3 separate regions of the Homo sapiens genome follow, and regions 1 and 3 are each linked to region 2. The links are contacts of gene promoters, found by promoter capture Hi-C in blood cells and fetal thymus (Javierre and others, 2016). All regions are on one chromosome and are shown on one strand. Each heading gives the region's core, a stretch centred on a gene start or on the middle of the fragment in contact. The rest is flanking DNA. Distances are from core to core; before and after follow the strand shown.

The links. The method cuts DNA at HindIII sites, captures the fragments that hold promoters and counts their contacts. A CHiCAGO score of 5 or more calls a contact.
Region 1: a fragment that was not itself captured here is called in contact with the fragment with the promoter of CACNA2D1 in region 2 in 1 of 17 cell types (fetal thymus); the score reaches 5.0 in fetal thymus.
Region 3: a contact is called between a fragment that was not itself captured here and the fragment with the promoter of CACNA2D1 in region 2, in 1 of 17 cell types (fetal thymus). The highest score is 5.8, in fetal thymus.

The regions. Positions count from the first base shown.
Region 1 is chr7:81,481,857-81,485,055 of GRCh38, reverse strand. No RefSeq gene overlaps it. Among named protein-coding and RNA genes, the nearest start is that of HGF, 290 kb to the left of the region's middle. The HindIII fragment of the contact is 182 bases long and covers 1,721-1,902 here.
Region 2 is chr7:82,442,052-82,445,168 of GRCh38, reverse strand. CACNA2D1 (calcium voltage-gated channel auxiliary subunit alpha2delta 1) reads left to right here and starts at 1,392. Exons shown (of 39, transcript NM_000722.4): 1 at 1,392-1,804. The coding sequence starts at 1,710. RefSeq lists an enhancer at 2,387-2,950. The HindIII fragment of the contact is 3,454 bases long and covers 1-2,781 here.
Region 3 is chr7:81,504,233-81,507,088 of GRCh38, reverse strand. No RefSeq gene overlaps it. Among named protein-coding and RNA genes, the nearest start is that of HGF, 260 kb to the left of the region's middle. The HindIII fragment of the contact is 4,512 bases long and covers 1-2,856 here.

The sequences.
Region 1 (3,199 bases), core at 562-3,061, 960 kb after region 2:
GGTTCATCCTGAATGACCTGAAAGTAAAATTGCAAGGGATTGTCTTCAAGCCAGTAGGTAGCACTAGTTCTTAACAGGGAGGAATAGGCCACTTTTGTAGGCCCACAAAGTTCAGAGAAGTCTGAGTTTCAAGTTTATCAAGTGTCTCATTTCAGACGTCTTGATTCCAGGATTCACTTCTTTATAATGAAGATCCTGACCATGGTGGAGCTGACATCCATGAGAATTAAATTTTCATTGGAGCTCCACTATACTTATATGTCCTGGGCTTGAGCTTAGCTTTTTCTTGCCTCTGGCTGTTGCAGTTTTATTAGTTTCTGTAGAGGTGTCATGATTCCTTGATTCTTTATAATACTTGTGTCCTTGCATTTGCTGTGCATTTGAAGAAATGGTCCATTCGTTTGGCCTTTACAGGTGTTCATTGTAGGAACAGACCTTCACTAATAGTCTAGCCTGTGATTCTGAAAGGGCTGACAACTCCAGGCAGAACTTGCTGTGGTTTCTCTAGTTGGCTGGGCCACTGCCTTTGCTCTGATGGCTGGGCTCTGCTGTCCAGAGAGACCACTGGTTAGGCAGAGACCAATGGTTGGGCTCTGCTATTAGAGGAAGCTACTGGTTGGGCTCCGCTATTAGGAAGAGTTGCCGGCTTGGTACTGTGATGCTCTCTGGTCAGGGTAGTCAGAAGATGTATTCCTTGGCTGGGCAATTTTACTATTTGGAATCTGCACTTGGGCAGGGCTTCAGGCTGGGCTTTGAAAGTTGCTGCTTGTGATGGGCAAGACAAGAGCCTATGCTCCTTAAAAATGTGTGATTAAGGGTTGCCTCCATTAGGTCAGAGCTGTAGGGTGGACTTTTGCCTGAGTCAAGATGCTACTTGACTTCCTGCGTCAAGCAGGTTTAGTTCCTACACTCCTGCAAAATGCACACGGGAGGTTGTTGGGCAGGCTTTTTGGCTGAGCTAAGTTACTTACTCTTTGGACTCCTAGGTTTTACAGGTCTAGCCCTTGTGCCTCTTAGAAATGTATGCATGTGGCTGTCTCCCTGCCTCAGCAGGATTATAAGGCAAGCTTTTTGGATGAGTGGAGCCACTGCTTGACCCAAGATATCTAGCCTGTGTGATTCTCAAAATGCGCAGAGGGGGGCATCTCCCTACCTGGGCAGGGTTGTTAGAGTAGGCTGTGTGCCTGGCCATGGAGGCTAGCCATCTAGGGACTCAAGCAAGGCTGAACTTCCCACTGTGCTTCTGAAAAAGATCAGTTCAGCTTTCTGGGTGGGCTATGAAGTTGGCTGGTAACTCTGATTGGGCACCGCAGCTGGTGTGAACACAGAGGTGCCACACAGATCCATATGCTAGTCACTGTGGCCTCTGCCTTCTTTCTTTGTTTCTACTTGACCCCAGGTGGTCTAGCCATGCCTTTACCCTTTTCTTTCCCTATGAGGTGAGACAGGCGGGATTCCTGGAAAGAAAGCATCTCAAAATGCTAGGGAAGCTGAATGACTGCCTCCAGTTCTCTTTCCCCACTGCAGAAACTATGGGTCCAGGGTAATGCTCTTCAACCAGTGTTGTGCCAACTTCGTGGTGGCGGGGGGGGAGACCATTCTTCTGACCCTTCTCACTCAATTTTCACTTAGGTATGTGTACCACATTGTCTCAGGCTCGTTTCCAATATTGGGCTTTTGAAGAAGATGTTCTGGTCTATGGATAATTGCTAGATAAGCTTACAAGGGGTGGGGGGAGTGTGTGTAGCCTGAGACTTTTTACTCCGCCATATTGCAGCCATCCTGACAATGATAAAAACTCTTAACAGACTAGGTATAGAAGGAAGTTGCCTCAACATAATAAAGGCTATATGTGACAAACCAACAGCTAACATCATACTAAATGGTTAAAAATTGAAAGCTTTTCCTCTACCACCAGAAACAAAACAAAAATGCTTCTTAACACCACTTCTATTCAGCATAGTACTGGAGATCCTAGCTAGAACCATTAGGCAAGAAAAAGAACTAAAATACATTCAAATTAGAAAGGAAGACAACAAAATTGTTTGCAGATGACATAATTCTTCTTGTTTTAACTTGATATAAAAATAATCATGTGATATTTTTCCAATTATTTATTAATTGTATTGAGTGTCATATATTTGAGAAAACATATAAAAATCCATTAATATTTAAAATAAAATGTGTTGGATACTCTGGGGAAACAAGTCACGTTAAATCTTAAACTTTATTCAAGGGAGATTTACAGCTAACATATGCCATCTAGTGGCACTAAAAGAAACTTCACTTACAAATTCATAACATTTCCATTTCTTAGCGTACTATACTTCTGCTTATTCTTATGAATCTTTATATATGCCACCCTAAGGGAGAAATTCTATTGAATTGAAGTCCCATAGTTTTTCATAGATTTCTTACAATGCATATTTTTATGCATACAATGTCATGAGAAAAGTAATAATTTGTCATCAAATCATAATATAATCTATTTGTCTGAATTCCACGCTTCCAACCACCAACATAACTCTTTACAAGATGATCAGACCTGATCCCCTTTTTTCTATTACATGTTAATGTAAATATACACTTAGACTGATGCTCTACATAAATTATCTTGAAAATGTTATATTAAGAAATATCTAAAACTAGTTCAGTTTTTATACGATTCATGTTTCTGTTTTTATAAAGCAGAATGTTAAAAAGCTTTCAAGTTTCATTACATGGAACTTCTTGCCACATCTTTTTTTTTTCAACCTATAAATTGTTCATTGTCAAACATGTATCACACTTTTGAATTAAGGCATTGATCATCCCCATTCTTTGTACCTCACATTGGTGACTGAAAAATGTTGTGCTCTGCTGGCAGAATAGAAGCCTCCAGAAACCTGGTCCTGTGCTCTGACACAAGAACCTAGTGCTAGTGAACATGATGATTCTAGTCCTTCTCTTGCTATAATCAGGTGGCGTCCATCAGTGACTAACTCTACAACTAGAAAATTACCTCTGCATAGAAATAACTAAGGTAGAAGAAGGAGTTACAACACCAAATAAAGCAAGAGGAGAAAGGTATTTCTCAATAAATTGAACTATTCCCACAGTCATTTCTAAAGACTGGTGCTAAAGAAATTGTGTTGGGAGGCCGAGGCAGGCGGATCACGAGGTCAGGAGATTGAGACCATCCTGGCTAACACGGTGAAAC
Region 2 (3,117 bases), core at 143-2,642:
ATTTCGAATTAATAAGGGTCTTTTTCTTTCAGAAGCATCTCCTAAAAATAAGAACGGGCTAATTAAAAATCTGACAGCCACCCCGATACTTACAGAATTTTTGCATATGCAGGATAGTCATCACAAATTGTATTCTCTGCACGTCATGTCAAAAGTATTCTCATACACTACTAGAGGGAGCTTAAGAATTTAAGGTGTGCAAGAATATATTTCTATCTTTGGCCCACCAGGGCCCTCTTGTAGGAGGCCTGTGTTGGGCGGGAGAGGCCTAGTCGCAGACCCTGTCTTTTCAAGGAGAAAGCCCGCCACTGCTTCCTCTGAGTCTGGAGATAAAACCAGTCCGGCATTGCTACTCCCTAGCTCTCTCCCCCTCCCTTAATTCCTCCTCTACATTTCAGGCGCATTTCTCAGAGTGCCACCTGTTCCTGCTGCTTACCCTTTTCATGCCTTCGCATTGACAAAAGTGAGCTCACCCTGCGGTAACCTTGTCAGGCAGGGCAGGCCAGTGGCCAGAGCAGGGCGTTAGGACCCTTTTGGAGGTAGTCCCAACTGGGATGCTGCAAAGCGCTTCTCTTACTACTGTCCTCCCTAGATGCAGAATTCGTCCCTCCACCCCTCTGTCCAATGGAACCACAGGGCTGGGAAGATTTTACAGCGTCAGTACTTCTCTGTCCGTCCACAGCCCGGTCCCTGAGGCTCTGTCCTCGCCAGGTGAGCCGAGCAGTACCTGGGCGTGGGACCGCTGGCACAAAGGGCACCCAGCCCCGGCAGAGGCTCTAACCTATGGCACACGCGGGCATATAGTGCCACCTGGTAGAGAGTCAACAGTGGTGCTTTAAAATGCAATACAAACCCCTCCTACATTTGTTGTCAAATCACTTCACGATTCCCAGGCAGGCACTGGATTCTGCGCCTGGGAGTAGGGCTGGGGGGGAACGCTGCCTGCATGTGCAAAAATAACCCCCGAAGACGCGAGCCAAGTCCTGGGTTGGAGCCTCTGCAGCCTGTGGATGCCCGCTGGGCGGCTGGCCGTCCCCCGGGAGCCCCGCGGGGCTGGTCCGCTCCGCCTGCGCACGCCGGGCGGCGGGAGCGAGCCGGCGCCGACTTTGGGAGTTCCTGGCTGCCTTGTATGGAGGGCTGCTCCCGGCCCGTCTCCGCCCGACTGCTCTGACGCCCAGCCCTCCCGCTGCCCACCCCCAGCCGCCTCCCTCTGACTTGCCTAAGAAGCCAGACGGAGCCTCTCGCTTCCACAAGTCTCTCTGCCTGCCATTCCCCGATTCCTGCAGCCACCCCCACCCTCCAGCGCCGTCACCCCTCCTCCGCCCCCGCCCCCGCCTCCGCCTTCGCCTCGGCAATCGGGGGAATAAATCAGGGAGGAAACCGAGAGGGAGAGCGAGAGCGCGCGAGCGCCGGCGGGCTCGCCGAGGTCTGTTTCCAAAGTCGCCCTTGATGGCGGCGGAGGCAAGGCGGCCGCGGCGCGGAGCAGCCGACGCACGCTAGTGGGTCCGCCCGCCACCGCCCCTTCCTCGGCGTCCGCTCCCGCCCTTGCCGTCCCCCGCGCGGCTCCGCGCCTCGGGCCCCGGGCGCAGCCAGCCCTCCAGACGCCCGCGGTCCCGGCGGCGTGTGCTGCTCTTCCTCCGCCCGCGGTTTCCAGCGCCGCTCCTTCCCCCGCTTGGGCAGGGAGGGGGCATTGATCTTCGATCGCGAAGATGGCTGCTGGCTGCCTGCTGGCCTTGACTCTGACACTTTTCCAATCTTTGCTCATCGGCCCCTCGTCGGAGGAGCCGTTCCCTTCGGCCGTCACGTAAGTCGGCGGGCCGGGCAGGGAGCGCCGGCCGAGGGGCGCCGCGGGAGTTGGGGGTGGGGGTCGGTTCCCGAGTCGCGGGGCTTTTCCGCCCGTGGGGGTGGGGAGCGAGCGGCCGGGGAGCCAGGCTCGGATGCGGAGACGCCGGGCAGGCGGTGCGCGCCGCTCGCCGCTGGAATGCGTCCCGAACCGGCGTCTCGGGCGCCTCCACGGGGCCGGGCACTGGGGGCCGACTGTCCCGGGAAGCGCCCGCCGACGACTCGCGGCGTCTCAGCCCGTCTCTAACGGGATTCTCTAGACTTCAGAGTGCAGCCGTACTGGGGAAAAAAGTTTCCAGCCAGCTCACCCGCTCTGATTCAACCCAGTTCAATAAAAAGTTATGTTTTGGTTGGGTAATTTACAAACAGGTAATTTCAGGCTTGCCGAGGTAGCGTGGACTTCCCCCGCACTTGGCCTCGGAGATGCTCTTTAATTGCTGTAGTGCCCAAACTCGTTTTATCCCACGTTACTGGATGCACTTGACAGCCTTCCGATTAGACGCGTGCTGGCTCCCCGCGGCCGAGCGTGCTGTCCACGCAGGGGGCTCGCAGGTACTGGGACCACGCGATCCAACCTCCCCAACCCATTATTTGAAACATCTAAGTGTCGGCAGACACGCGGTCCCTGTTCTTCAAATGAATAGAGCCTATTCTTTGAAGGAGGGACTATTTCCAGTCTCCTACAAATTTTCTTTTATTTTTACCATTTCTAAAATAACTTTTAAAAACCTCGCTGCTGTTCTGGAAATAGAGGGCTTATAGGTAGCTATAGTCACACCACAGGAAGGGAATGAAAAATAATAATTCTCTCCTTTCTTAGCAAAATAGAATCAAACTCAATGGCACATATAAATATATACATATTTTTTAATGCACCGAATAGCCTATCCGGCATTCTGGGAAAGCATTTATTTTGGTTCTTGGAGCTTCTTTAAAGCTTCTAAAGGTAGGTAATCTTAAGTGGATGAGTCACTTTAATGCATTTTACATAACAAAAACAAAGCCCAAGGTAGCTTTCCCGGTATTTATGCTGCTGGGAATTACTTGCTGTCCTTTGTTGGCTGAGTGCTGAATACAGGAGTTTTTGGTGGAAAGTAACAGTGAATCTTTAGCGGTTGAAATCCTGCGGCTATTATTTAAGATTCAGTTTTAAGTATTTATTACCTTAGGTGTCAGTGCAAGAATCTGGAGGATGCACATTCTATCCCGGAGAAGGGGAGTGTCTAATTTTTGTTGTCATTGAGTTACAGTAATGTTCCTCTTTAGATAATCTTC
Region 3 (2,856 bases), core at 42-2,541, 940 kb after region 2:
AGCTGCGTACAGTGACAAAACTGGAATTTTTAGTGCTTTTCACTTAATTTGGACATTAAAGATGAATCCTGAGGATATTATGGCTGCTTAGACACACCAGAGACTTATATCTTTGTAACCTTATATGTTTTTTCTTCTATTGTGCTCGTTGCACAGGCACATTACTTTTCCAAGGCTGATTTGACTCATCAAACACCAAACCCTTACTACATATACCTCATAAGATAATTTACAACCAAATACTCTTGGCACTTTGTTTTCAGCTGATAATTTGGAACAGTAGTATGCTGGAGCTGGCTTATCCCAGCTGAGAGAGCCTATTGTTAAGCATGCAGAAATTTTGTAGTCTTGTTGCTAAGCATTTGGTAGCTTGAAATAGGTAATGATGGGAATATTTATGTCACAAAAATTGGCAAATACTACATACCAGGTTTTTGGTTTTGTTTTACATTTTAAGAGTTGGTTTACCAGCATATTATTGGACCTGTTTTATTCTTTAGTAGACATAGAAAGGCAGAAAAATTTATGGTGAATAGGAAGAAAATTTAAGAGAAATTAGCAATGTTTATGTATGATATGGATATTTTTTTGAAGTCAGAGTACCCATGGAAGCCACCAGCACTATCTGCTAGCCTGAGTCTAATATTCACTAGACTCTATCCAAAACACCTGTAGAGATTAGAGAAATATATTACTTCCTGTCAACTATGCTTTAATATCCACCCTGCCTTGTCAACCTAGGAAGTGGAGCTCATTGTGGTTATTTCAATGATCACCTGATGTCTCTAACCCATGAATTAAGGTTCTCTTGTTATTCTTTGTCTTCTCCTAAGATGAAGACTTAAATTGCAAAATAATAGTAGTGGATAATAATGGTCACAAATTGTTAGCCTACTGAATGCTATAAACTTCCATAAGGTATTTTCTTCCTCATAGAAACTCTACAAACTAGGCAACATTGTTCCAAACAAAAAAATTAACTTGCTCAAATTAAGTGTAAGTCATAATTTTAGCCCAGATATGTCTATTTCCAGAGAACATGTTTGCTCCATTATACTAGTATTTCTATATTTTCAAACTTGATTAACTCATGCATGCTTTTTAAAGAAAAATGAATCCCCCAGACATCCAATATTGATTTATATTATTTTTGTAAGAGGGATAAAAAATATATTAAATAATATATCTTTAAATGTAGTAGCAGAATTATAACAAATCTGCCTCTCTTACCTCAAATTGTTTCTAAGAAAAAATTAGTAAAGAAGCATTGATGTAATGAGTTGATGATGATGAAAATAATACCTTTATGGTATGCCAGAAATTGGAGAGGCTGTGACAAAACATATTAAAAAGAAAGCATGCCCATTTTTATCTGGTCTGGCCAAGCATACAGGACAGATGCATGATGAGATATGATGTATGTATTTACCCCTGTGTGAAACAACAATAAAAGATCCCTTAGACCTACTGGGGGACAATGGAAATATTTGCTGCTTATCTTGGGACTTCTGATATTCAACCTATAAACTATCTAATCATTCTTCTTAAATTGTGAATATGGGAACTAAGGGGCTAAGTCACCCTTCTATTTGTGGATTGGGAACAAATTCTCTTGGTGACCCTCAAAATATTTCACTTTCTTCTGTTTGATAAGGGACATAAGTTATGCAACTGTTTGACTATTTCTGTGTGTATTATTTCACATTTAACCACTCTATAAAAAACAAGCTGCATGAATAAATAGTGAGAATCACATTTTACATTAATTTATTTATTGGTCTTTGTGTCCATCTGACTCTCAGAAGGAAACAGACAGAAAAAAATGAGAAGAGTTGTGGAAGGAGCTATTTAAAAGGGTGTAGACAAAGTCAAGGAAAACCAGCATGACATATATCTGCCTGTCATTTCATAAGCAAATTACATCCTGTAATTGATATACATTTGATATACATTTCCTTTTCTGATTCCACTTGATGACTGCTGCCTAAAGATACTCAATGAAGTCTTCCTAGGCCATTCAACGTAAGAGCTAGAGTTTATTTTTAAGGAAAATAATGTCTTACCTTATTAAAAAGAGAACACTACTTACACTAGTTTTTATTAGCAGAATTGACTTATTTTTTAAAGATTACCTATAAGCTAGAAACTAATAGTGTACTTAATATTTTACACAATATAAAGGAAGCCCCATGTCATTCCAGTGTAATGATGTGGATAGTCAAAGTGAGACAAGTCACTGATTAAAGAGATTTAAACAATTTTTAGGTTTGGATCATTTTGTTTTGATCTCCTAAATAATGACCTTTCATTCGAGAAAAATACTAGTTGTGCAATTAATGGCTTAAAATTTCTGTCTTTATATTTGTAAATATTTTTTCCTTTTTTTCTTTTCATGCATTTATTCTAATTTGCATGACATATATTAATTGAATTAGTACATAGGATTAAGAATGAATAAGAAGCTCAAGGAGTAATATTATAGTAAAAGAAAAAAGCAGTTAACTTTTTTATAGTAACAAGGCTCAGAAAACAATTTTGACAATATTAATTTTTAAATTTTAATCATATTCAATCATTTATAATATGACCAGGCCTTCTAATCAAAGGGAAGTAAAGTTTTCAAATGAAATTTTGAAATTAAAGAAATGCAAACAACAATTTCACATAGATTGCATCAAAACAGTTTTTACATTTATAGTAAGCAATCTTAAGGTCCAAGTAGTGCAACAGAAAGAGTGTGGCCTTAGGAATAAGACAGGTCTTGGTTTGAATTCCAGCTTTCACTAGATGATCCTGTAAAACTGGGTTGAGTTATTCACCACCATTGAACCTCAGTTTCCAATTTTCAATAGAAAT